Linked DNA regions of Homo sapiens: regions 2, 3, 4, 5, 6 and 7 are each linked to region 1. Evidence: promoter capture Hi-C in 16 types of primary human blood cells and fetal thymus (Javierre and others, 2016). All regions are on one chromosome and are shown on one strand. The core of a region is centred on a gene start or on the middle of the fragment in contact, and the rest is flanking DNA. Distances in the headings are between cores, read along the strand shown.

The links. Contacts are between HindIII fragments. The CHiCAGO score rates a contact against its expected background, and 5 or more counts as called.
Region 2: a fragment that was not itself captured here is called in contact with the fragment with the promoter of UBE2U in region 1 in 1 of 17 cell types (M0 macrophages); the score reaches 5.6 in M0 macrophages.
Region 3: a fragment that was not itself captured here is called in contact with the fragment with the promoter of UBE2U in region 1 in 9 of 17 cell types (M1 macrophages, megakaryocytes, M0 macrophages and 6 more); the score reaches 7.7 in M1 macrophages.
Region 4: a contact is called between a fragment that was not itself captured here and the fragment with the promoter of UBE2U in region 1, in 2 of 17 cell types (M0 macrophages and fetal thymus). The highest score is 8.1, in M0 macrophages.
Region 5: a fragment that was not itself captured here is called in contact with the fragment with the promoter of UBE2U in region 1 in 7 of 17 cell types (endothelial precursors, M2 macrophages, fetal thymus and 4 more); the score reaches 8.5 in endothelial precursors.
Region 6: a fragment that was not itself captured here is called in contact with the fragment with the promoter of UBE2U in region 1 in 1 of 17 cell types (M1 macrophages); the score reaches 5.9 in M1 macrophages.
Region 7: a contact is called between a fragment that was not itself captured here and the fragment with the promoter of UBE2U in region 1, in 4 of 17 cell types (M0 macrophages, M1 macrophages, total CD8 T cells and 1 more). The highest score is 5.8, in M0 macrophages.

The regions. Positions count from the first base shown.
Region 1 is chr1:64,201,898-64,205,781 of GRCh38, forward strand. UBE2U (ubiquitin conjugating enzyme E2 U) reads left to right here and starts at 1,726. Exons shown (of 10, transcript NM_001366232.2): 1 at 1,726-2,219; 2 at 3,742-3,823. The coding sequence starts at 2,154. The HindIII fragment of the contact is 16,836 bases long and covers 1-3,884 here.
Region 2 is chr1:63,595,114-63,599,096 of GRCh38, forward strand. All of the region lies in intron 1 of PGM1 (phosphoglucomutase 1), which reads left to right. Among named protein-coding and RNA genes, the nearest start is that of PGM1, 3.7 kb to the left of the region's middle. The HindIII fragment of the contact is 894 bases long and covers 810-1,703 here.
Region 3 is chr1:63,627,111-63,630,870 of GRCh38, forward strand. PGM1 (phosphoglucomutase 1) reads left to right here. Exons shown (of 11, transcript NM_002633.3): 2 at 2,315-2,477; 3 at 2,832-2,978. Among named protein-coding and RNA genes, the nearest start is that of PGM1, 36 kb to the left of the region's middle. The HindIII fragment of the contact is 1,303 bases long and covers 1,792-3,094 here.
Region 4 is chr1:63,576,662-63,580,701 of GRCh38, forward strand. It overlaps a transcript of EFCAB7 not described here. Among named protein-coding and RNA genes, the nearest start is that of PGM1, 15 kb to the right of the region's middle. The HindIII fragment of the contact is 1,635 bases long and covers 798-2,432 here.
Region 5 is chr1:63,610,989-63,614,834 of GRCh38, forward strand. All of the region lies in intron 1 of PGM1 (phosphoglucomutase 1), which reads left to right. Among named protein-coding and RNA genes, the nearest start is that of PGM1, 20 kb to the left of the region's middle. The HindIII fragment of the contact is 416 bases long and covers 1,683-2,098 here.
Region 6 is chr1:63,557,112-63,560,790 of GRCh38, forward strand. EFCAB7 (EF-hand calcium binding domain 7) reads left to right here. Exons shown (of 14, transcript NM_032437.4): 10 at 3-136. Among named protein-coding and RNA genes, the nearest start is that of PGM1, 34 kb to the right of the region's middle. The HindIII fragment of the contact is 768 bases long and covers 867-1,634 here.
Region 7 is chr1:63,658,739-63,662,349 of GRCh38, forward strand. PGM1 (phosphoglucomutase 1) reads left to right here. Exons shown (of 11, transcript NM_002633.3): 11 at 848-1,507. The coding sequence ends at 937. Among named protein-coding and RNA genes, the nearest start is that of PGM1, 67 kb to the left of the region's middle. The HindIII fragment of the contact is 965 bases long and covers 824-1,788 here.

The sequences.
Region 1 (3,884 bases), core at 476-2,975:
GGGAGACTTTTCATTTTGTTCTGTACTAAGAAAAATTCTTTTGCCTTGGGATCCTGTTGATCTGTGACCTTACCCCCAACCCTGTGCTCTCTGAAACATGTGCTGTGTCCACTCAGGGTTAAATGGATTAAGGGCGGTGCAAGATGTGCTTTGTTAAACAGATGCTTGAAGGCAGCATGCTCGTTAAGAGTCATCACCACTCCCTAATCTTAAGTACCCAGGGACACAAACACTGCGGAAGGCCACAGGGTCCTCTGCCTAGGAAAACCAGAGACCTTTGTTCACTTGTTTATCTGCTGACCTTCCCTCCACTATTGTCCTATGACCCTGCCAAATCCCCCTCTGCGAGAAACACCCAAGAATGATCAATAAAATAAATAAATAAATAAATAAATAAATAAATAAATCAGAGCATGACACTCTCCTGTTTAAACCCATTAAATGGATTCCCATAGCTATTCAAATAAAGCCCAAACTTCCTACTGTATAGTGCCCATCTTTATCACACCCCTCCCAGGCTCCTCCACAACCTCCCTGACCTTCCCTTGTTCCCTTTTCAAGACAAGCTCTTTCCTGACTCAAAAATATCTTGTTTTCCTCTTCCTAGAACTCTCTGCCCTCAATATTTCATGTAGCAGGCTCCTTCTCATCTTTCATGTATGAGTTCAAAACCCCATTCCTTACAGAGGCATTTCCTGACTACCATTTCTAATCCTTAATGACCTACCCCAATCTCTATCATGGTACTGTTTTATTATTGTCCACATAACGTTTATCACCATCTGAAATCATGATTTTTGTTTTGCATACTTGTTTATTGTATATTGGAGCCATAAAGACATTTACTTCATTTGAATCTTTCAAGTAAAAAAAAAGTATTTAATAAATATTTGTAAAATGAATGGACTAAATGAACATCCGGATTCTATAAAATTAGTAAGTAAAAAGTAAAAAAAGAAAGTATTCTGAACAAAGATGCCAGGCTTTGTAGTTGGCGCTGGCAATGGAACCGTGTCTTTCAGTAGTTCCCACTCTGGTGAAGACAATAGACAATTGTGATGCCGTATGGCAAATGTTAACTAGGAGGCAAATAGAAGGTCCTGTGGGATCACAAAAGAAAGGATCCCTTAAAGAGTCGTTAAAATCTGAAGGATGAGTGAGTGAAGGGGAAATGAGGGCTGAAGGGGTGGAAGGAATGTGGTAAACTCCTAGGTAGAAGGAACAGCAGGTGCGAAACTGTGCGGGAAGAGATGGGAATCAGAGAAATTTTAAGCAGTTCCCTGTTCCTGGAGCACTTTCCCAGGGTGATTGTAGGGTTTGATGACATAATAGCATGCACACTACTGTGAATGGTAACTCGCCATGTAAGTTAAGATATTGTTATGCAGACCTGTACCTACCAGTCACTTACTATATCTTTTGATAGTCAAAGAAAAAGGAAGGATAATTTCGAAGAAAGACTTCGTGGGACGGCTTCTGTGACTTACATGCTGGGTCCTGGGACCTCACCCCATCCTCTACACTAGTTTTGTACAGTCCATGTTCGTGGCCTGAGAAGGCGTGGTGTTGCCTTGACCACGAATCTCATTGGCCTTTCAAAGGGGAAACTGTTGTAGGATTGGCTGTGGAGATAGCAAGAGGCCTGCCCCCTGTCGCTGATTGGGTGAGAGCGGCCAACCCCCTGCCTCCGTCTCTCGGCGGCCCCACGGGGGCCTGTTGGTTGGCAACCGATTTGCTTCCTCCGGTGCGTGGCTGCGGGGTTGCACCTGTGAAGCGAAGACAACCTGCTAGGACCCTGATAGGCGTACACCTCTCACTCCCACTCACGCGCCGACGACATGGGCTTGTCTCCGTTACTCATCCAAGTTTGTCTTGAGACTGGGCTGTGAGCCGGCACTGCAGTGAAACGCCGCAGATGAGGAAGTGCCCAAGTCTTCCTTCGGGAAGTTCTCGTTTAGAGGAGTCAGGAGAAAAAGTCATTGTTATATCCCAACTTTAGAAGCCGCTTATCTTGGTACCGTTCTGAGGTTCTAGAAAGCAAGTAACTTATATCAGTTTACTAAGTGTGGGAAAGTGACCCATAACTTCAAACATCTGCCTCAGAGTAAACCTGAGGCATTTGGGGACAAGTGTCAGACCCTCCGCTGCCTATCATGCACGGCAGAGCTTACCTCTTGCTGCACAGAGACTTCTGTGATCTCAAGGAGAACAATTATAAGGTAAGTACTGGGCACGTGGAGAGATGTGTTTCATTGTGCAATAATTTTTAAGAGGCAGTTTAACCCATTTTATTCTATAAGTAGTAATTTAGTTAAACCTGATTTGCCACTACAGTATTGTTATTTAATAAATCCATTTCACTGAAGTAATGTGTTTCATATTAATAACAATTATTATTACTTCAAAATAATAATGCTTAACAATATTGAACATATTATGCAGAGTAATTTATGTGGATCTAGGCACTGAATATCAGGGTCTGTCATGTAGTTAGTGACTAGTAGGTGCAGGCTTATGCTCATTAATTATAATACTATACAATAAGTAGTATTTCATTTTACTTACCAAAAACCTAAGCCTCAGAAATATTCTGTAAAGATTTTGCCCCATGATTCCATTACAGGGTTTTTGGACTTCAAAGCCCTAGTTCTTAATTCCTGTGTTCCACTGCTTACTGTCTAGTGTACTTTTACCAGCATGACACATAAATGCCTTCCCTTTATAGTTTTAACACAAAAGAAGCAATGTCCTTGGGCTTAAACGCCACCAATGAGGTTATCAATGTCCATGGCTGCCACAGGCTGATTTACGGAAAATGAAAAATGGAAGAGGGGGCGAAGAGGGAGTGCTTAAGAGAAAGAACAGAAAGAAAGCTGTCCATGAAAGGTATAGAGTGCTTCCCACAGTTGCTTCAGGTGTAGTTCAGTGGCATTGTTCATTTTTTACCTCTGCTATAAAAGTACTGCATTCACTGGAGATGTTAGGAACAATTATGGAGTCCAACAGCGAACATTCCTGGGGCATGGACCTAACATTTGATATTGTTTCTGCTCATCCTGAGCTCTGTAGTTCTCTGTTGAAAGAGAATCCAATGAAGGAATATGTAAATATAGATAATAGAGAGACAGGGCTCACCCAGACAAGCACTAACATACTTAATAACTATGTGGATGCTCAGAAGTGTTTTTATGTGTTTGTAAGTGTGTTACTTAACGTAATTCATAAGGTTTTCTATGAAATACATTCTTGTCCCTCCATTGGAACAACTCCTCAAGTATAGGAAAACTTTGCTTTTATATACAAGTGTAATTTTGGATTTTTTCTTAATGAAAATGTTCCCACTTCATGCCTTTCATATAGCATTCATATAGCTCTAAAATGTTTTGAAGAAACATGCACTTTCCAACTATTTCTTTCTTTTAAAATTTGAATATTAAATTGGTTATTGATTTACACAAACAGTATATAAGCCACACATTCTAATCTTGACTCTCTAGTCCCACTTGTGATTTCCACACTTATGATTTATTTTTAATTACTATTGCATATGTTTTCTGGGATCTATATTAACTTCCGTGAAATAAGACATGTAACACTTCCCCAGAGCAGCAAATAAATAAACTTATCAAGGAAAGAAAATTTAGAGTTTTTAGAATTCAGTGTGACCTGGTATATGATTTTCAAAACTTCAATAAATACTTAATAAGTTTTTTCTGATTTAATTTTGTTTTTAACTTCAAGGGTATCACTGCTAAGCCTGTAAGTGAAGATATGATGGAATGGGAAGTTGAAATTGAAGGTCTACAGAATTCAGTTTGGCAGGGTTTGTATTTTCAAAACCAATCTATTTTTTAAAAAAGTCTTTATACCATTATTAGCCCATC
Region 2 (3,983 bases), core at 7-2,506, 610 kb before region 1:
TCCCCTGAAATGGATATTTTTATTCATTTTAATAGTACTTTATTTATCTTATTTTGTTGACATTGAGTACTATTTGCCAAGCACTATGGTAAGCGCTTCATTTCTGGGTCTCATTTATCCTCCTGCAGCCCTATAAGGTAGATGCTATTATGGGTATCTTCAAGTTGCCAACGAGGACGCTGAAGCTTAGGTAGGTTAAATAATTTACAAAAACTATAATGGCAGCACTAAGAGTCCAATATAGATCTGCCAATCCCAAGAACTTGAACAGCTCCTGAGAATGAAGAATGAACAGCCCTTGATCTTGAAGATCTGTTTTCCAGGCTCCAAAATCTAAACTGGGCTCTATCTACATCTGCCTTCCTGGGCCAAACATTTATAAGCATCAGTGAGAGAAGATTGCCTGGATTTGTTTACTTTGTGGTCCTGAATTTTCAGACAAGCGCAAATTCCCATGAAAGAAGAACAGACAATAGCTGTATCCCAGTAGATCATTTCCCTGTTACCACCTGTGCTGAATTTGCATTTCATTCATTCATTCATTTATTCAGTCAGTCATTCAACAGATCCTGTTGAATACCATGTTCAGAGAAATGTGTGGACTAAAAGGATGATGCAGACCCAAGAGTTGTCCTTAAGGAGCTTACAGCAGAGTGGGAATTTTAGGTGCCCAGATGGAAATTTGTCCATTTGGGAGTAGTGTGGGGTGGGAAGGAAAGAATTAGTTAAGACTAAAAAAAAAAGTTCTTAAAACTTCATCACCCTTTAGCCATTGCCCTATTGCTCTTCTCTCAGCCAACCTTTGTAAAAGCTTTCTGCATTCACTATTTCTCATTCTCACCTCCGGTTTACTCGCCATTTCACTGCTTCTGCCCCCTCCACTACTCCAGTAGAATTGCTCTTGCCAAAGTTACTAGGGACTTGCCAGTTGCTAAATTCATGGAATACACTCTGGTCTAATCTTATTTGGCCTTTCTGCTGCATTTGGCAGTGCTGATTTTGTACTCTTGTAAAGTTCTTCCTCCCTTGGCCTTGCTTACTCTCCTGATTCTACTCACACTTTTTGGAAGTTCCTTCATGGGCTGCACATTGACTATCCCCTAGGTTTCTTTCTTCTTTCTTTCTTTCTTTTTTCTTCTTCTTTTTTTTTTTTTTTTTTTTTTGAGACGGAGTCTTACTCTGTCGCCTAGGCTGGAGTGCAGTGGCGCAATCAGCTCACTGCAACCTCTGCCTCCCAGGTTCAAGCAATTCGCCTGCCTTAGCCTCCTGAGTAGCTGGGATGACAGGCATGCACCACCACACCTGGCTAATTTTTATATTTTTAGTAGAGATGAGGTTTCACCATCTTGGCCAGGCTGGTCTCGAACTTCTGATCTCAGGTGATCCACCCTCCTCGGCCTCCCAAGGTGCTGGGATTACAGGCGTGAGCCACTGCGCCTGGCCTATTCCCTAGGTTTCTACGCTCAGGTTGTTCTCTGATTTTGTTCACTCTCTCTACTCACTCGGGATTTAAATATGCTACTCTTTCTCTTGTGATATGATTCAGTCCAGATGGCATCTTCAGAAACCTTTCTTGACACCCCATCCCTACCACTCTTCTCCACCTATTAAGTGCTCCTTTCCCATAGATAATTCTAGAATATATATATTAAATTCTAGTGAAATTTTCCGTTTACATGTCAACGGCCTCCAACTAGAGAGTAAGCTTCTTTAAGTCAGACCTGTGTTTTACCTGTATCTGCAATGCCTAGGACTATGTAGCATTCAATGAATTCTTGTTTATTTGCTCTGAACTGTGAGTCACTTTTGTATTCTAGCACTTGATTTAAAGCCAGCATGTAGCTGGTGACCAATAAATTTATTCACATCAAACATTTATTATGTGCTTGCTTTGCCTCAGACATTGTACTTGAGATACAAAATATTTTTGCCCTTGGGAAAGACATAGTCTGGGAGGGGTGGTATACAGGAGTAAGCAGACAGCACAATGTGTCAGGTGTTGTGATGGAGGGATGTGCAGGTGTCTTTAACCTGAGGGGCTGTACTTGGGAGGGGAAGATGAAGGGAGGGAGGCTCCATAGAGGGGTGGTAGCCGAATTGAGTCTTAAAGAATGACTTGGAGTTCCCAGAGTGGGTTTGTCTGGTAGGAGGAATTCTTAGCAGAATGAATACAAATTGAGGGAGTTTAGATTAGATACAAATACAAATTTCTAGTCCTTTTTTGTTTCATCCACAAAGGTTGGGAATAATACATACCTGAAGAGCCTGTTGTGAGGATTAGATGAAACAACATATTTACAAGTACCTCACTTGGAAACTGTTCGAATGATAGGTGTGTTATCAATGTTTTGTTGGTATTAGGACACAATCCAACGTGATGCAGATATGAGCCACCCAGATGGTCTCCCACCTTCCTCTAATCCTCAACAGCCTCAACCAATATAGAGGGGTTCCGTGTTAGTCAGAGCCCAATTGGGTACAAATGACAAAAACCTTACTTGGATTACTCCAAGTGAAAAAGGAATTTTATTGGCCCATGTTACTGAAAAGTCCAAGAGAATCCCAACGAATTCTTTAGTTGAAACTATTCCTGGTCTCTAAAAATCACTTCTGGGTCTAATGATCTGCAAATGACCAGCATCAGAAATTGAGGAGAGTTTAAGCTCACAAATGAATGTGTGCATGTTTTGAAGGATGATTTATCACCACCCTAAGCAAAATAAAATAAATACCTTTGTGGGAACTTATGAGCAAGGAGGGTATTTGTTGTTGTTGTTGTTGTCAAGTTACAGGGATTCTTTTGTCACGGCTCCTTTGCTACTCATTTGTGCAAACTGTGGAGCCCCTTCTCAGAATATATATTTTTAAAAATTTGAGACATGGTCTTACTCTGTTGCCCAGACTGCAGCACAGTAGCGCGATCGTGGCTTACTGCAGCCTCAGTCTCCCCAGGTTCAGTTGATTCTCCCACCTCAGCCTCCTAAGTAGCTGGGGTCTACAGGTGCATGCCACCATGCCTGGCTAATTGTTTTATATTTTTTGTAGAGATGGGGTTTCACCAAGTTGCCCAGGCTGATCTCGAACTCATGGGCTCAAGCGATCTGCCTGCCTCGGCCTTGCCTCCCAAAGTGCTGGGATTACAAGTGTGAGCCATCGTGCCGGGCAGAGTATTTTTATTTTTAAGTGAATAAAACAAAATACAAACCATTACAAAGGAAGCAAAATTATATTGAAGTATAATCAAAATATTAAAAAACCAGATTTGTGATATATCAAGATAATGCTTCTTTACTGACATAGGAAGATTTGTGGAGGATTTAATACTGCCTTACTTCAAAGTAGTGGTGAGTATAAATGATGTTTTGAGACGTCTGCAATCTCAGTATTTTGAGATAACTATAATAGGATATGAAAATATAATTTTTATTGATGATAAATTCCTAGGTAGTAGTAGTAATAGTAGCAGTAGTAGTAATAATACTGTGGTTTGCTTCCTACATTTATAATAAAAGGAGGTGCTAAATTTCAGTTAGATGTTAGTGAAAATAAAGATTGTTTTGTTTATTTTGTCATTCATATTCATGGATCCCATTGAATTCTACCCAAGGACCTCTTGAGGTAGGGGAAGGGGATGTAAGCATCCCAAGTTAAGAACCCCACACTAAACAATGATCCTTTTTTAGCATCAGGTGATGCCTGCACCAAAATGGACCTCAAACACATGACCCAGAGGTTAAGGGTCTCATGTTCTCAGAGCAAACTAGTGGGACTTTGCAAACTTCGCCTTATAGTGGAGGAACTCCACTGTCTCCCGCTTGAAGTGAACCACCCTTTTCTGAACTTTCATGAGATCCATCTGCAAACACTGCTGAAGGAACATGTTTCTGGCTATAGCAGTTCACATTTCTTGAAAAGGAAATAAAAGAACACTGAGCAGGAAGGGGAAGGTTTTGAGACTCTTGGGTAGTTGGAGTTAGGTGGAG
Region 3 (3,760 bases), core at 1,193-3,692, 570 kb before region 1:
TATACACAATATTTTGTTTATCCATTCACTTGATGATAGACGTTAGCGTTCTTTCCACCCTTTGACTTTTGTGAGTAATACTGCTGTGAAATTTGGTGCTTAAGTGTCTGTCTGCGTCCTGCTTTCAATTCTTCAGGTATATACCTAGAAGTGGAATTTCTGGGAGGGTTTTGGAGTCAGAAAAGGGACACAGAATTATGATTTAGAAAGATAAACTAGATGGGTTTGAGTAGGTCAGATGGATCCAGCCAGGGTCGAGTAAGAGAGAATCATGTGGGACAGAGGCAGGGGAGATTGAGTTAGGAGCTGTTGCAGTGGTCCAGGCATCTTTAAGGGAAGGAGGGTAATAGAGCAGTGTCTCTCCTGTATCAGATCGAGAGCAATATTCCTGAGGGTGATTCCCAAGAAAGAGCCTGATCTGGAAGGGGAGTTCTTCCACCAGATGTACCTCTTCTTGGGCTCAAGAGAGAAGCTACCTTGCTTCTATCTCTCAACTTTCCTTCTTACTCTTACCCCTGGCATAATCCCCTCAGCCTGGAACCATTGCAAATCTCACCATAAGGAATGGTAGAATTAAGGGGTGACATGGGTGGTGTAGCTTAATATCACCAGCCTCTCCTTCCACACCAAATACAATCTATATAAAAATTGGTATGCTTGGTGTGTAAATACAACTCGACAAGCCACCCCTAAACCCCTCCTATGGACATTCTGGAACTGCCCGAACATAGGCTTTTATTCTCATCACAACCACACCTGGAAACTGCTGGAAGGTGAAATGTCACTGTGTTGAGTCAGGACGTTTCAATACTTTCCCCCACCATGGCCGCTAATGTGCTGTGTGGCCTTGTCGTGTCATCTACGCCAGTGTCTGCCATAGTACCTTTCCATTAATGCTTGTTATTATTGCTGCTGGATGGAGGCAAGAATGAATGAATGGGCAGGATCATGATAACTCTGGACCTCAGCTTCTTCATGTTTGCAGTGGTACTTGGGAAGAGCAAATGTGGGAATGGATCAAAAGTACCATGGGATGTAGAAAGCACTCTGTAGCTCAGTAACAATCATCGGTTTTGATTTCACACTATCTGCAGGTTCCTGTAGTCTAAAAAGCAGCCTACTGACAGCATCCACCCTGGTGGTTACCATTTCCTGGGGAAGGCAGGATATAACCAATATATTAGGGGAGCTACAACAAAAATTGTTCGGAGATTGACATATGAGAGCCAAGAGGTAACTGAAGGGAACCAGGTGCTCCTTGGGAGGTGGTTGGTAGTGGAGTGGTTGACGGTTTTCAATGGGCTATGGAAGGGTGGCAGAGCCAACAGTCCCAGAGAAACTCTCCCCAGGGAATCCAGGTATCTCACGGACATTTTCAACACTAGAAACACATCTTCCACCATCAAGTTGTTTCTTCAATCATGTTTATCTTGGGTGAAGCAAAAAGAAATAACAAATGGAAAATGTAAAAAAATCCCTGTTTTTTAAGAGGAACTGACAGCACCTCAACCTTCTTTTCCAACTTGAGTCATGTTGAAACAGATATAAATTACTGTCATTTTAGCAAAAAAGATTTAGGAGCAGTACTGATACCATCTGTAAGAGATATGGGAAGGTAAGTTAAGAATGCAACAGAAGTCCCATCTGTCGCCCTTTCATGTAGGTCATTCTGACTGGTTTACTCAGGAATAACTCCAGCATTCTTGTCTTAGGCCCAGGAGGTAACCCAGGTACACTGTAACAGAAGTAGGTGTGTCTTGCTTTGAGGAAACCCACTATATGAAAAAGCCAAGCTTGACTGGAAAGATAAATTGATGAGTCATTTTTCAATAATCTTGATATAAAATTTGCCCTTTTTACTTTAAAAAAGCCTTCTCTTTGGGTAGAATCCCTTTAATTAGCTAAACCTTTTCTTTTCTCCCGTTGTGGATTGAAAGTATGATTGAATTGGATAAAAATGTGGGTTTTCTCATATTCTTTCAATGCATCCAAATTGTGGCCCCGATCTGGAAAGGCTCTTTTTAATATGCTGTGTTTTCATGCTGGAGCCTTACAGTGCACACAGACCACACACTTCTAAAACTACAAAGTCCCGAAAACCATCTGAAGGAATTTGTTCAACATTGCTGATTCTATTTCAGTAATATGGTGGAGACATCCAAGCTGCAGATTTTTATTAAATAAAATCTTTTCTTGTCCAACAGATTATTACTATTATTTTTTTGTCCATCTGCCTGTTGTCTTGGTGTTGTTTCTGAGCGGTGACTCTGGATGTATTGATGTTAAAGAGTGTGTTCTGGATTTCTTCTCCTAGATCGGTCGCTTGGTTATCGGACAGAATGGAATCCTCTCCACCCCTGCTGTATCCTGCATCATTAGAAAAATCAAAGCCATTGGTGGGATCATTCTGACAGCCAGTCACAACCCAGGGGGCCCCAATGGAGATTTTGGAATCAAATTCAATATTTCTAATGGAGGTGAGTTTGCTGTCATTTTGAGGACAGGTAAGTTTACATTCAGTAGGACAAATCAATACCTGGAGCCTTGGGAGACCAGGGTTTTGGTTCTGATCCTTTGCAGGGGGTAGGGAGGTGCTCTTTGCTTCCTTTCAGTGACAGTGAAATGCTTCTCATTTGACTGTACCTGAATATGAAGAGCCATGCGCAAATCTTCCTTAACATGATATTTTCTTTTAGAAAAATCCTGCTACTTTGCTGACTGAATGATGAAATGGTAGATGTGCTAGTGAAGAGGAACTGATGAGCTTTGGATTCTTTGTATTTCCATGTGAGCTGCACGAAGTAACCCACTGTTTGCTGTTTGGTTTCCAGGTCCTGCTCCAGAAGCAATAACTGATAAAATTTTCCAAATCAGCAAGACAATTGAAGAATATGCAGTTTGCCCTGACCTGAAAGTAGACCTTGGTGTTCTGGGAAAGCAGCAGTTTGACTTGGAAAATAAGTTCAAACCCTTCACAGGCATGTTTACTTTCCTCCTCTTTCTGCCCACTCCTATTTCCAAGTTGAGCGATTTTCCTTTCAACGTTTTAGTAGAGGGTCTTCAGCTTTGGAAAGATTTCCGTGAGTGCTCTGTAAGCTTTGCAAGTGTTAGTTAATTAACAAGTCTGGAATTAGGTTTGGGAGACCAGAGACCTGGGCTCCCTGGGCCCTGCCAGGGATCAGCTGCATGACATCGAGTAAGTCATTTCCAGCACTCTAGGCCTCAGTTTTCATGCCTTGACTAGAAGACCTGCAGGATTACATTCATAGTTAACTTTTATTGACCTCTTGCTACATGCCAAGGTCTTTACACGTGTTAATCCATTTTATTCTCACAGTAGATCTGTCAGGGCAGCACTGTCAGCATTCACTATTATAGATGAGGAAACAAAGGCTGAGAGAGATTAAGTAACAGGCTCAAGGTCACAGTCAGTGAATGGCAAAACGAAGATTTCAACTCAGGTTTGAATGATTCGCAAGACTACACTTTCCATTTTAGTTTTCCTCATTCAGTAAAATCAATCAGACTATTTTGGGGGGACCAAATTGCAACTCCCTACATAGGCAGCTGTGGCTAACATTTTGTTGTTGAATTATTGTAATAATTGACAGAATAAATATTTATAAAAGTATTCAGATTAATAAAATGAGGATGAGATGATTGGCAATGAACTTGCATTTTGACTTTGCCCTAACATGTTTTCTTTCTTCTGGATTGCAACTTTATGGAATGCATTTTATTAGTCATTTAGTTCCTGGCT
Region 4 (4,040 bases), core at 365-2,864, 630 kb before region 1:
AATAAAATTAAAAAAAAAAAAATTAGCTGGGCGTGGTGGCGGGCATCTGTAATAATCCCAGCTACTCGGGAGGCTGAGGCAGGAGAATCACTTGAACCCGGGAGGCAGAGTTTGCAGTGAGCTGAGATCACCCCACTGCACTCCAGCCTGGGTGACAGAGAGAGACTCTGTCTCAAATAAATAAATAAATAATAATAAGTGCTCTTGGCCGGGTGCTGTGTCTCATGCCTGTAATCCCAGCATTTTGAGAGGCCGAGGCAGGCGGATCACAAAATCAGGAGTTCGAACCAGCCTGGCCAATATGGTGAAACCCCATCTGTACTAAAAATACAAAAATCAGCCAGGTGTGGTGGTGTGCATCTGTAGTTCCAGCTACTTGGGAGGCTAAGGCAGGAGAATCGTTTGAACCCAGGAGGCTGAGGTTGCAGTGAGCTGAGATCTGCCACTGACTCCAGCCTGGGTGACAGAGTAAGACTCAAAAAAAAAAGAGTACTTTTTTTTTTTCACCCAATACATTTCTAAAAATATATATGAATATTTAACAAAAAAGACTTACATATGATAAAGGAGTTGGAGTATGGTTCCATTTCTCAAAAATTAAATATTTTTCAACTTCTTTTAGACACAGTTGATAAATATTCAACATTTAATACATATTCTTAATTGTATTCTTACCTTTCCAATTGAATACAAGAGTAAGCAAGTTAAATTCAAGGCCAGCTTAAGTTCAGTTATCTGATTCAGGCTAATGTCAGCATGTTATGAAAATGAAATCGTTCCAGAATGCCAGTATTGTAAGCTTTCTGGCAATTTCTGATATAGTATGCGGAATTACTAAAAAGTAAATTTCTCTCTGCCTTTTTAAATATCCATTACAAAAGTATCCAGAATTGGCTTTTGAAAAAAAAGTTTTTTCTTAGTAGAGAAGTAAAAATAGGAGTAGACTAGGCTAGGGAATAGTACACAGGGACATCCAATTAGCATGTATCTATTACATATTAATTAGTTAAAATAAATAAGTAGTAGGTGTCATCTCTGTCCTCAGGACAAGAAAGCTAAGGAAATGAGTTACATGTTAACCTGTTAGGGAATAATATTAAATCTTAATAAATGCCAGTCATTAAGCATTAAACTAATGATGTGAATATGGAAACAGAAGAGGAGGGGAAGGCTTGACCAATTTAGAGGATGTAGATGAAAGTAGATGAAAATCTGTTGGAGGACTGAAGGAATGAAGTTTAGTTTGAAGCTAAGTAGTGCTTTGATTTGTTTTTACTCATGTAATATAATGTATTTTAAAATTTAAATAATATAAAAAGAGGACACATTTTAATAACTATTAAAGGAAATGAGGCATAGTCTTTAAAATACTAAGTAGTACTACACTAAAATGTTAGATTAAGTTTGACAGTGTTAGAGCAAGTTTGGACAAGTTGGAAAAATGAATGTGGGCTGGAAGAATCAGGGGAACCTGATTCTGTAACTGAACTTTAAGTGACCTTGAAGAGATAGGAGGGATTTAGAAAGAGGAGAGGAAATGAAAATTTAAGGTATTTTCTAATGTTTTTCACTTTTCCTAGAATGTTATTGTATCTTTGCCTATTAATATCATAAGCAATAGATCAATCATATATAAATTGAGTCCCTAATGTGTGCAAAGTACTGCTTTAATTATTGCTTATATAGAGGTGAACAAGCCAGACATTGCTCCTGCCCTCATTATATATAGTCTGTCAGAGAAGATAGATTGTGAACAAGTATTACAGGCTGTACCTCTAACATACATTTTTTTTTTTTTTTGAGACAGTCTCGCTCTGTCATCCAGGCTGGAGTGCAGTGGCGCAATCTCAGCTCACTGCAAGCTCCGCCTCCCGGGTTAACACTGTTCTCCTGCCTCAGCCTCCCGAGTAGCTGGGACTACAGGCGCCCACCACCACGCCCGGCTAATTTTTTGTACTTTTAGTAGAGATGGGGTTTTACCGTGTTAGCCAGGACGGTCTCGATTTCCTGACCTCGTGATCTGCCCGCCTCGGCCTCCCAAAGTGCTGGGATTACAGGCGTGAGCCACTGCGCCCGGCCTCACAAGCAATAGATCAATCATATATAAATTGAGTCCCTAATGTGTGCAAAGTACTGCTTTAATTATTGCTTATATAGAGGTGAACAAGCCAGACGCTGCTCCTGCCCTCATTATACATAGTCTATCAGAGAAGACAGATTGTGAACAAGTATTACAGTCTGTACCTGTAACATACATTTTTTAAATACCTCATCCTTCATGAAACCTTTAATTTTTTTCTCAGCCCAGAAGAAACTGTTCTACTTCTTGAACTTCTATTTTAAAACGAGTACTTTTTTCCTGTGGGGTTTTTATTTCAGATAAAAAAAAAATCATACAGTAAATTTGACCCTTTTTTGGTGGGTTGGGGGGAAGCTTTCACAGTTCTATTAATGTAACACATGTATAGATTCATATAACCACCACCACAATCAGGATACAGAGCAGTCCCATCACTAAAAAACTCCCTCACGTTATTTCTTATAGTCACATCCCCATGACCTTACCCCTGTGCATACTCCTATCCCCTGGAAACCACTATTCTATTCTCATCACTATAGTTTTGTTTTTGAGAATGTTGTATAAGTGGAATCATGCAGTATGTAACCTTTTGAGACTGAATCCTTTTATTCAGCATAATGCCTTTGACAATCATCCAAATTGTATGTATCAATAGTTCCCTTTATTGCTGAGTAGTATTTTATTATATGATTGTATTACAGTTTATGCATTCATCTGCTGGGTGGTTTCCAGTTTTTGGTAACTATTAATAGAACTGCTATAAAGTTCATCTACAGATTTTTACATGAACATAAGTTTTTATTCCTCTATAGTAGATACCCACAGGTAGTACTGCTGGATCATATGGTAAATATATGTTTGACTTTTTAAGAAACCGCCAAAGTGTTTTCCAGATTGGCTGTACCATTTTGCACTTCCAGCAGCAATGTAGGAGAATTCCAGTTATTCTGCAACCTTATCAGTACTCGGTATTGTCTGCGTTTTTTATTTTAGCCATTATAATAGATGTGCAGTGGTATCTCATTGTGATTTTAGTTTGTATTTCCCTAATGGCTAATGATGTTGAACAACTTTTCATAGGCTTGTCATCTGCATACATAGTATACTTTTTGATGGTGTGCTTCTTCAAGCCTTTTGCCCATTTGAAATTAGGTTATTTGTTTTCTTACTGTTGAGTTTTGAGTTTCATTTTCTTACCATTTGATTCTTTATAAATTCTGGATATGCCTTTTATTGGATATGTTATTTGAAAGTATTTTCTTCTCTTCTGTAGATAGTCTTTTTGTTCTCTTAACTGGATCGTATAGAGAGTGAAAGTTTTACATTTTGATGAAGTCCAATTAATCAGTTTTTCATTTAATGGATTATGCATTTGGTGTCAAGTTAGAAGTCGTTGTCTAACCCCAGGTCACAAAGATTTTTCTTCTGCTTTCTTCTAAAAGTTGTATAGTTTTACTTCATACATTTATATGTGTGATGCATTTTGAGTTAATTTTTGTATGAGTTCTGAGGTTTAGGTTGAGGTCCATTTTTTTTCATATGGATGTCAGTTATTCCAATATCATCGGTTGAAAAGATTATCCTTTCTCCATTAAATTGCTCTTGTACCTTTGTTGAAAAATTCACTGGTCATATAGAACCATATCTTTGCATGAGTCTATTTCTGAACTCTATTCTGTTCCATTGATCGATGTGTCTTTCCCTTCACTAATACTACATTGTCCTGATTACAGTAGCTTCATTGTAAGTCTTATATTCAGGTAACATGATTTCCCCAATGGTACTGTTCTTTTCCAGAATCATCTTAGCTATTTTAGTTTCTTTCCCTTTTCATATAAATTTTAGAACTGGCTTGTTTATATCTACAAAAAATAAATCCTGCTGGGATTTTAACTGGTATTGTGTTAACTGTATTGATCATTTGGGGGGAACTGGCATGTTTATTATGTTGACTCTTCCA
Region 5 (3,846 bases), core at 641-3,140, 590 kb before region 1:
CCACTTGCTCCAGAAATCTCCGTGAATAAGATTTGATGGGGTGCTTTCCATCCCTGAAACATTTACTGAATGTTTTCTTATTGCTTAATACAGTGCTGTGTATTTGGGGCATGCAGTAGTGCATAAAACGGTCTCCGCAAGTGGGCATTGCAATATAGTGTGAGAAGTGCCTCGTTAGGGTGTATTGGGGGCCCTAGGGAGGGGAACACGCAGGGGTGGTCAGAGGAAGCTTCCCAGGGGAGATGTGTTTAAGCCAAGTCCTGAAGGATGATAAAGAGGAAGCCAGGAAAAAGTGTAGACATGGGGGTATGAAGAAGACATTCTGTGTAGTGGGAGCAGCCCTTGCAAAACAAGGAGATCCTTGTAGAAAGTAAAAGCACAGCCTTAGACTGTAAAGTAGGACTCATCCTAACTCCAGCATTGCAGGAAGGGAAGAGGGAGGCCGCCGGTGACTCAGCTGCCTTAACCCCTGAGGTCACACAGGTCCTTAACCCCTGAGGCTTTCTTTTATACACAGGCCAACATAAGACCCAGTCTGGGAATTATCCTAAGGCCCAGCCTGGGAATTCTCTTATGGCCCTGAGGGAAGGGAGGATTTTGGAGACAGGATCAAAAACCTAAAAAGCTATCTGTAGGCCGGGCGCAGTGGCTCTCACCTGTAATCCCAGCACTTTGGGAGGCCAAGGCAGGCAGATCACAAGGTCAAGAGATCAAGACCATCCTGGGCAACATGGTGAAACCCTGTCTTTACTAAAAATACAAAAATTAGCTGGGTGTGGTGGCACATGCCTGTAGTCCCAGCTATTCGGGAGGCTGAGGCAGGAGAATCGCTTGAACCAGGGGAGGTGGAGGTTGCAGTGAGCCGAGATTGCACCACTGCACTCCAACCTGGCAACAGAGCGAGACTCCTTCTCAGAAAATGCTATTTGTAAGGAGGATTGGGTTGAAGTATTTGCCCAGTAACATATTAAGGCTATCAGGAGCTGGACGTGGTGGCTCACGCCTGGCCTGTAATCCTAGCACTTTGGGAAGCCAAGGTGGGTGGATCACTTTAGGTCAGAAGTTCGAGACCAGCCTGGCCAACATGGTGAAGCCCCATCTCTACTAAAAATACAAAAATTAGCCGGGCATGGTGGCGCGTGCCTGTAATCCCAGCTACTTGGGAGGCTGAGGCAGGAGAATCGTTTGAACCTGGGAGGCAGAGGTTGCAGTGAGCCGAGATCACACCATTGCACTCCAGCCTGGGGAACAAGAGCGAAACTCTGTCTCAAAAAAAAAAAGGCTCTATCAGTTTGCTCTGACTCTCTTTCTTTAACCAGCAGGTTACGTGACACGTGACACCATCTGCATGTGACCTACTGTCTTCACTGGGACAGGCCTTCTAACTTGGGTCAACTGGCCTGAACCCATACGTAGAATGATTGATATATAGTTCACTAAGTTAAATTATACATTTATAGACGCAAAAAAAATTTTGACATACAGTGTGGTTGTGTTGTATCCTACTGCTCTAATATTAGGAAAGGGGCTGGGATGCTAGGTCAGCTGGGACCCTCTTTTTCTCGCTTGCATTCATCTCTTTTTCTCTCTTACTCTCACCACTTTTCTACCTCATGTTGAGTAGCGCCATGAAGACCCCTCCTTCATCACTCTGCCTGCAGTTATCCTGGGAAGCAATTATAAGCTTTCAGCCTCAACCATGCAGACTAACTGGCTCTACTTCCTTCACTATTGCAGTTTCTAGTTCTGTTCGTAATTGTTGCACAAGACTTTGTGCTATTGCAACTACTTGGAATGCCAGTTCCAGGCAGAGTGCCCTCTGTTGTAGACACCTTGTGCTTTGGGAAGTTGTCTGTGATTAGGGGAGTAATTTTCTATTTGAGGTTGGTCTCAGGAAGGGAAACCACTCCTGACTCCTGCCTGAAAACTCGCCTCCTTGCTCAGAAACACTAATTACAGGGGTCGTTTGATGCTCTCACTTAAATATTTTAGTCACTCACACATTTATTGACTATCTGTATGTGCCCAACCCCATTCCAGGTACTGAGGTTAAAAATGAGTGAGATGCAGTCTCTCCATACCACAGAGCAAAGGAGGAAGCTTGTTTGTGTATATGGAGCATGGCCCATGCAGGGTTACTTAATGCTAGAAACCAAACACTCTGAGGCAAAGAAAAGGTGTAGGGGGTTGGGGGGCAGGGTAGAGGAATAGTCTACCCAGACTGCCTGTCACTCAGACCAGCCACTCTGCTGCAAAAGGAGTTGGCTTATCTTTTTTTTTTTTTTTTTTTTTTAAGCACTTAGCAGTTTCCTAGGGCTGCTATCTGCTGTAACAAACTGTGTGGCTTAAAACAATGGATATTTATTCTCTTGCACTTCTGGCAGCTTAGAAGTCTGAAATCGAGGTGACAGCAGGACCATGCTCCCTCTGAAGGCTCTAGGGGAGACTCTTTCCTTGCCTCTTCCTAGCTTCTGGTGGTGGCTAGCAATCCCTGGTGCAGTGTAACTTCAATCTCTACCTCTGTCTTCACGTGGCATTCTTCCCTATGTATCTCTTCTGTCTCTGTCTCCAAATTTCCCTCTCCTAAATCCTGTCATTGAATTTAGGGCCACCCTAATCCAGTATGCTCTCATTGTAACTTGATTACATCTGCAAAGACCCTATTTCCAAATAAGGTCACATCCCCAGGTTCCTGGGTTAAGACTTCAATGTATCTTTTTTTTTTTTTTTTTTTGGAGGGGGCGGGAGTAGTGCACCATTCAACCATGACATCTATACTCTGTCCACCAAATGCAGGTGGGTTTTGTACAGACACCAAAGCACATATACTTTGCACTTGGGCAGTAGCCCTTTGGGAGTCACTTGGGATCTATTTCCTCTTAATTTTCTTCAAGTTTAAACAAATTTGATCATCCAAAGGAGCCATACATAGCCCAATGATGAGAAACGTGAGCTTTGGCTTTAAAACTGGTGTTGAAGCCTGCCTTTCCAATTTATTGTGAGTCCTGGAGCAACTCGTGTAACTTCTTTAATCCTCAGTTTCCTTATCAGTAAAATGGGAATAGTGAGAATACCTACACCACTGAGTTGTTATTAAGCCTGCATGAAAACCTACATGTAATGATATTCACTGTGCTGAGCACTTTACATGATCTCATATAGTCTTTTCAACAACTCTTAATTGATTGGTATTTAGACTTCTGTTTTACAGATGCAGAAATAGAAGCTAAGTGATTCGCCCAAGATCTCCAAGATACTAAAAAGTATCAAGAGTTGGAATTTGAACCTGGATTTCCACTGTGCTCTATTCCTCAAGACCCTTTTTAATAGTTATGTAGCGCTACAGTCTAGGGGTTCCTAAACTTTTTAAGGAAAGTCCAACTTTTTATATCCCTAAAGCCTTGCTCTCACTGAAGCCTTGATTGAGGCCAAGAGAGAATGCCTTGCTGCTGCCCCCATGAGCCACTGCCCATCTAAGGAATTCCCACAGATGCCCACATTTACCCACATGCTTTAAAAGCTCTTGTTTATTGAGTCTTTGCTGTTCACCTGGCTGCATATTACATTACAAGGCAAGGTAGCATGATAGTTACATGTCTGGGCTCTGGAGACAGACTGCGTATGACCTGGTGTCTTCTTAGAGCAAGCCTTCTAACTTGGGTTGGCTGAATCAAATCTATATGTAAAATGAATGATATACAGACAGTTCACTAAATCAAAGCCCATCTCCACAATCTACCTGACCTCGGACAGATGACATAATCTCTGTATCCCCCATTTTCCTTATCCCTAGGATAAGGGCTGAGAATAATAAGCCCCTATACAGTTGTTGTGAAGATTAAATAA
Region 6 (3,679 bases), core at 1-2,500, 650 kb before region 1:
AGGTCTACTTTATCAGATATATTTGAAGTAATTGATTTAGATGGAAATGGTCTTCTTAGCCTTGAAGAATATAATTTTTTTGAATTGAGAACAAGTGGTGAGAAATGTGATGAAGATGCTTGGGCTGTCTGCAGAGGTAAGCACTTTTCTTTTCCTTAACAGATGTATAAAAATATATATATAGCACCTTTTCATCTCTAAGAAATGAGAAGTCAAACTTCTGCATGAAATATTATTATAGCATTTAGGACAGTTTGAAAGTAGTATTGTTTGTAGATCATAAAAACTTAAACATTTATTTTTCTTAAACCGATAGTTGGTATAATACTCAAGTTAAAAGAAAGTGTGAATTACTTAATCATAATTTTAGTTTTGATTCTCTACTCTTCGGGGTTTAGAAGACAAAAAACTTGTCCTTGCGCTTGATACCACTGGGCCTGAAGTGGTCAAGAACCACAAACTGTGACCAGGAGAGGGCAGCAAAAAGCCAAAAAGCTAGAGTTTTACTCACAAATTAAGGTTTCCAGGAAGTTGCTTATATTATACATGTTAAACATTCTTCAGTGCTTTTCGTATTTGAGTTGAATTTAAAAAGTCCATTTATGGAAATATTGAAGCCAAAAATGCCAAGATGGACAAAGAAAATCACTGAGAATGAGGCAAAGTCAGTTATCACTTAGAAGGAGTCTGGGAAGACATACTTGCATATTTAAGCCAAAGACCCCAAGGTCGAGGGAAAACCAAAAAGCCATAGCCAACTATAGATCACAGAACAAGAGGTATGAGGAGACCAGAATTCAGTCAAGAGAGATTAACTCACGTATGCTTTCACTGGGATAGCTATATGTGGGTCTTAAAATGGTCTAAGCTTGGCAAAGTGAGCCAGGTTGGGAGTCTGTTTACCTAGACAGCAAGTAGGGTAGAGAAGTATATTATTTATATAAAGGAATCTTTCAGTATTTCTATTTTAGCTGAAAGTTAATATAATCAACAGCAATACATGTATATTGATTTATAATATTAAACTGTGATTAATAAAATTCATAATATACATAATAGAGTATTACCTATAGGAAGATGTAATTATCTTGTAACTTTAATGATATAATCTTTTAATTGGCACTAGAGAACATTCCATAAGAGTGAATTTGTGGCTTTCTGATGGTAAAGTTTGTGATAAGTAAAATTCTAATTTAAAATTTTAATTGAATTGGCAGAGTTGACGGTTAACATTTTTTGATAGCTTACCATCTACCATGTACCAGCTGCTGATCTATGCACTTCTACACACCAACTCTATGAAGTAGTACTTTATTATTCTCACTTTATAAATCAGGAAATAGAATTAGAGGTTAAGTAACCTGACCAAGGCTACACAGCAAGAAAGTTTCACAGATAGGCTCCAGAACTTTGAACTCAATGCTATCAAAAAGTCTCCAAGAGTTATTGACTTGAAAAATGATTTGGAGGAATGTCTACTTTACCAACATTAATAATATTGCAAAGAAATGAGAGCTTTTAAGGTTTTAATGTTTCCCCTGAATAATAAGAAAATGTACTGTTTATCTGTAAGATTATTTTAATAAACTTTTTTTACACTTAAAGATGCTTTATTTTTATTTTGTTTATTAATAAGCTTTATTTTGTTTATTTATTTATTTATTTTTTTGAGATGGAGTCTCACACTGTTGCCCAGGCTGGAGTGCAGTGGCGTGATCTCGGCTCACTGCAAGCACTGCCTCCTAATAAACTTTATTTTTAGAGCAATTTTAGGTTTACAGAAAAAACAGGCTGGGTGCTGTGGCTCATGCCTATAATCCTAGCACTCTGGAAGGCTAAGGCAGTAGGATTACTTGAGGCCAGGATTTCAAGACCAGCCTGGACAACAGAGCAAATTGTCTCTTAAAAAGAAAAAAAAAAAAAAATTGGCCTGTAATCCCAGCACTTTGGGAGGCTGAGGTGGGTGGATCACTTGAGGTCATTAATTCAAGACCAGCTTGGCCAACATGGTGAAACCCCACTTGTACTAAAAATACAAAAATTATCCAAGTGTGGTGGCAGGTACCTATAATCCCAGCTACTTGGGAGGCTGAGGCAGGAGAATCACTTGAGCTTGGGAGGTGGAGGTTGCAGTGAGCCAAAATCATGCTGCTGCACTCCAGCCTGGGTGACAGAGTGAGACTCTGTCTCAAAAAAAAAAAAAAAAAAAAAAAATAGAAATCTTCCATATATTCCTCCTCACCCACAAGTTTTCCCTATTATTAACATCTTGCATTTGTATGATACCTTTGTTACAATTGATGAGTGAATTATTGATACATAATCATTAACTAAAGTTCATAGTTTACATTAGGTTCAGTCTTTTTGTTTGTTTGTTTGAGTCACTGTTAGCCTAGGACGGAGTGTAGTGGTGCAATCTCAACTCACTGCAACCCCTGCCTCCAGGCTCAAGCGATCCTCTCACCTTAGCCTCCTGAGTAGCTAGGACTACAGGTGTGTGCCACCACACCTGGCTAATTTTTGTATTTTTTTGTTGAGATGAGTTTCACCATGTTGCCCAGGCTGGTCTCAAACCCCTGGAGGGTTCACTCTTGTCTTGTACAGTTCTATGGGTTTTGACAAATATGTAACATCATGTATCCACCATTACAATATCATTTACAAAGGACTATCCTTTCTCCATTGAATTGCCTTTGCTCCTTTGTCAAATATCAGTTGAATATATTTATGTCGGTCTATTTCTGGGCTCTCTATTCTGTTCCATTGATCTATTCATCATTATTTCACCATTACCACACTGTCTTGATTGCTGTGGCTTTATAGTAAGTCTTGGAGTCAAGTGTTAATAATTTTTTTTTTTTTGAGATGGAATCTTGCTCTGTTGCCTAGGCTGGAGGGCAGTGGCGTGATCTTGGCTCACTGCAAGCTTCACCTCCCGGGTTCACGCCATTCTGCCTCAGCCTCCCGAGTAGCTGGGACTACAGGTACCCGCCACCACGCCCGGCTAATTTTTTGTATTTTTAGTAGAGATGGGGTTTCACCATGTTAACCAGGATGGTCTCGATCTCCTGACCTCATGATCTGCCCGCCTCAGCCTCCCAAAGTGCTGGGATTACAGGCGTGAGCCACTGCGCCTGGCCCAAGTGTTAATTTTTTAAAAATTAATGAGGATTGAGAATTTTAAGTTTTAAAAAGTAGATTCGTTTTTGATAGTCTCTATAGTACAGTATCTAGATAGGTTTCTTAATGTATTTGTATTATATGTCAAATATTTTTTTCATCGTTTCTACATAGTAGCTCTAACCTCGATTTTTGTGGCTACCATTTCTCTTCATGATTGAATTTAATCTGCATTTATTTTTTCCCCTTGAAAAAGTTATGAATAACTTTAAACTCTTAACTTTTTTTTTTTTTTTTTTTTTTGAGACTGAGTCTCACTCTGTCACCCAGGCTGTAGTACAGTGGCACGATCTCAGCTCACTGCAACCTCCGCCTCCCAGGTTCAAGTGATTCTCTGCCTCAGCCTCCCAAGTGGCTGGGACTACAGGTGCATGCCAGCATGCCGGGCTAATTTTATTTTTTGTATTTTTAGTAGAGATGGGGTTTCACCATGTTGGCCAGGCTGGTCTTGAACTCCTGAGCTCAGGCTATCCACCTGCCTTGGCCTCCCAAAGTGCTG
Region 7 (3,611 bases), core at 56-2,555, 540 kb before region 1:
TGAAACTCCATCTCAAAAAAAAAAAAAAAAGATTCCTGTATTAGTCTGTTTTCACACTGCTGATAAAGACATACCTGAGACTGGGCAATTTACAAAAGAAAGAGGTTTAATTGGACTTACACTTCACGTGGCTGGGGAAGCCTCACAATCATGGTGGAAGGCAAGAAAGAGCAAGTCATGTCTTACATGAATGGCAGCAGGCAAAAGAGAGAAATTGTGCAGGGAAACTCCTGTTTTTAAAACCATTAGATCTCATGAGACCCATTCACTATCATGAGAACAGCACAGAAAAGACCCACCCCCATGATTCAATCATCTCCCACCGGGTCCCTCCCACAACACTTGGGAATTATGGGAGCTACAAGATGAGATTTGAGTGGGGACACAGAGCCAAACCACATCAGTCCCATTGGGAACAGTGTGGGAAAGAAATTGGAAGATGCACAAGTGGATGTGGAGGCACTCACTGCTCCAGGTAAGAGACAGGACATTGACTTAGCAAGACTTAACAGCAGGAGAGTGGAGAGAAAAGGGGGCCATGGAGAGAGATTTAGCGGGGAAAAGTCATTGAGGCCTGCTCATGGACTGGGCATGGGGAAAATGCAGAGGAAGATGTCAGGAGCAACTCCTAGTTGTTCACTTTACATGAAAGACTGTAGTGTTGATCCACTGAAATAGAAACTGCTGGAACTAGGTATTGGGGGAAATAACATGTGTTTGTTTTTGGATTTGTGGAGTTTGAGGAGCCTTGGAGACCTGGAAGTAGGCAGTCAGACGTACGGGTTTGGAGCTAAGCATCTGTGTTTAGAGGAAGTGATGGAAAAGCTTCTCTCTATGTCTTCCTCAGGTCATGTTGGCCCCCCTTATTTCCATTGCTCTGAAAGTGTCCCAGCTGCAGGAGAGGACGGGACGCACTGCACCCACTGTCATCACCTAAGAAGACAGGCCTGATGTGGTACGTCCCTCCACCCCCGGACCCATCCAAGTCATCTGATTGAAGAGCATGACAGAAACAAAATGTATTCACCAAGCATTTTAGGATTTGACTTTTTCACTAACCAGTTGACGAGCAGTGCATTTACAAGGCACTGCCAAACAAGATGCCCTTGGGAGCTGTGAGGGAAAGAGGACCTGCGGGCTTAGATCAATCTCAATTCCTTTTCATGCCCTCCTGCATTGCTGCTGCGTGGGTATTTGTCTCCTTAGCCATCAGGTACAGTTTACACTACAATGTAAGCTATAGGTGGAGCATCAGCAGTGAGTGAGGCCATTCTTCATCCTTAGGATGTGGCAATGAAATGATGGTGCAAGTTCCTTTCTCTTTTGTGAATCTTTCCCCCCATTTCCTGTTTACATGTAACCCAACAAAATGCAATTTCTAGTGCCTTCTGTCCAATCAGTTCTTTCCTCTGAGTGAGACGTACTTGGCTACAGATTTCTGCCTTGTTTTGCGACATTGTCCCATTCACACAGATATTTTGGGATAATAAAGGAAAATAAGCTACAATTGCTTGTCGTCTTTTTTTCTTAACTGCAAAGTACTTTTTTGATTTTAGAAAGAAAAACAATTTTTTTTTTAGAAGGAGGGGAGTATTGTATTTTGTTTTCATGTCCTAGTCAGAAAATGAAATGGTCTCTAGGCTAGGTTGCAAATCCTTAGACTCAAGAACTGTAATTTTTTTTATTGTCCTGAATATTCTAAAAAGTAACATAAATTTTAAGAGAATTGTAATTTAAAATCTTAGCAGGGTCAACTGAGCTCTGGATTCTTCCAAGGTAGACAAATCAAGCTTGACATGGTTAACTTGGAACAAGGGAAAGGAAGAGTGATTTTCCTCTTCCTAGTGCTTAAATAGCAAAGCACTGGTACGTGCTCTGCAGTGCGGAGATGCCTTGACGCTTATTGAAGGGATGGAGGCAGAACCCTCAGAATCTGAGAGCAGGGTTACTGACATTTGGCCAAAAATCTGAGCCCACTGGCATCTTATTCAGCTCAGAACACTTATATTCCATCCATGAGTATATTATAGTTAAATAAGCGTAGACTTGAGAGCCAACAGACCCAAGTTTGAATCCCACTTGAGACCCTGAGTGACTTTTGAATATCATTACCCTATCCTTAAAGTGGGGATGAAAGTAGTTCTACCTTTATGAATTGTTGAGTACCTTAAGTGAGTACATTTGTGTAAAGCAGTGAGCACAGTATCTAGTGCATGGTACATTGTTAAATAAGTGAAAACTAGAATTATGTTTATGATACCATTTTTAGATTTTAAAGTACTGTATATACAGGAAAAACAAAAACTGTAACACTAATATTTGTAACACATTTTACATTTCCAAGGTACTTTCACAAAGTCACCTTGCCATATGGGCTATTCTAAAAAGTCAGCCCAGCTCTGTACCCCTCCCCTACTCAGTATGGACTCCCTGATACAGGTGGCAGGATCTTTATCTGGGGTAAGATTTCCATTGTTGCCAGCTCAGCAAACAAAACTATGCTTTGACAATGATGACAATGATGGTGGTGGTGGTGATGAGTTTGTCTGGAACGTTAACCCCTTGCCAGGCACTTTCCATATATTCTTTCTGAGCGCTTTCCATATATTCTTTAAATCTTCCTGACAACTCTGAGGTAGGTACTCTGAATATTCCCATTTTACAGATGAGGTTCAGTTACTCAACCAAGATCACACTGCTGGGGAGTGGTAGATGCTCCCAGACAGTGCAGCTCCAGCCCTACAGGGTTCAAACCACTTCAGATTTCTTCTACGGACTGTCTACTTCTAGGCTACACCTAACGTGGAAGAAAGGTGTGCAAATGCCCCTGTGCTTTACGCATTAAAGGGGGATACTGTGTGCTCTGGATGCCAAAGAATCTGTTATTTTGGCATTATATTAGCTCCTGCAGAGATCTGGATATCTGGATGTATCAGTCAGCCCGGAAATATGTATTGATCCACATTAAGTGTGAGGTGCTTGGGAGGAAGAGCTGTATAACACAGAGCCCATGCCATCAAGCTGCCTGTAAGACTTGCCAGGGGAATCGAATCTAGCACAAGTAGAAACTGTATGGGATAAATGTTATGAGTTGTGTAGGTAAAACCTACATATTCTCCAAGCACCTATTCTATCTCAGATGTTGGGCTAGATGCTTTCCAGTAACCCTCGAAGCAAGACATCATTCTTCTCGCTTTCCAGTTGAGGCAACTGAAGCTCAACAGAAGCTCATTAATTTGCCCCAGGTTCTCAGCTACCGTGTGATGGAACTGGAATTCTGACCCTAAGTATCGTTCATGTTTCCTGACCCTTTTCTGCCTCCTCATCTCTTGAATCAGCTGCGGATACTCCCAGTTCTGTGGCCCCTGGAATGGCTTCAAAAATTTCCTCCTCCCTGATCGTATTTCAACTGCTTTTCCTGCCTCCACTTGGCAACAGCTTGGAAGTTAAAAGCTCAGGGGAGGAAGAAGGAGGTGGCTGGAGCCATGGGGCAGTGGAGGTGGGTGTGGGTAGTAAGGATCACTGTGTCTCTCCAGGGCTTCCAAAGAGATGCCGCAGTGTGTGTGCCCCAGGGAGTGCGGGAGAGGAGTCCTGAGAGGCGGGCAGCAGCA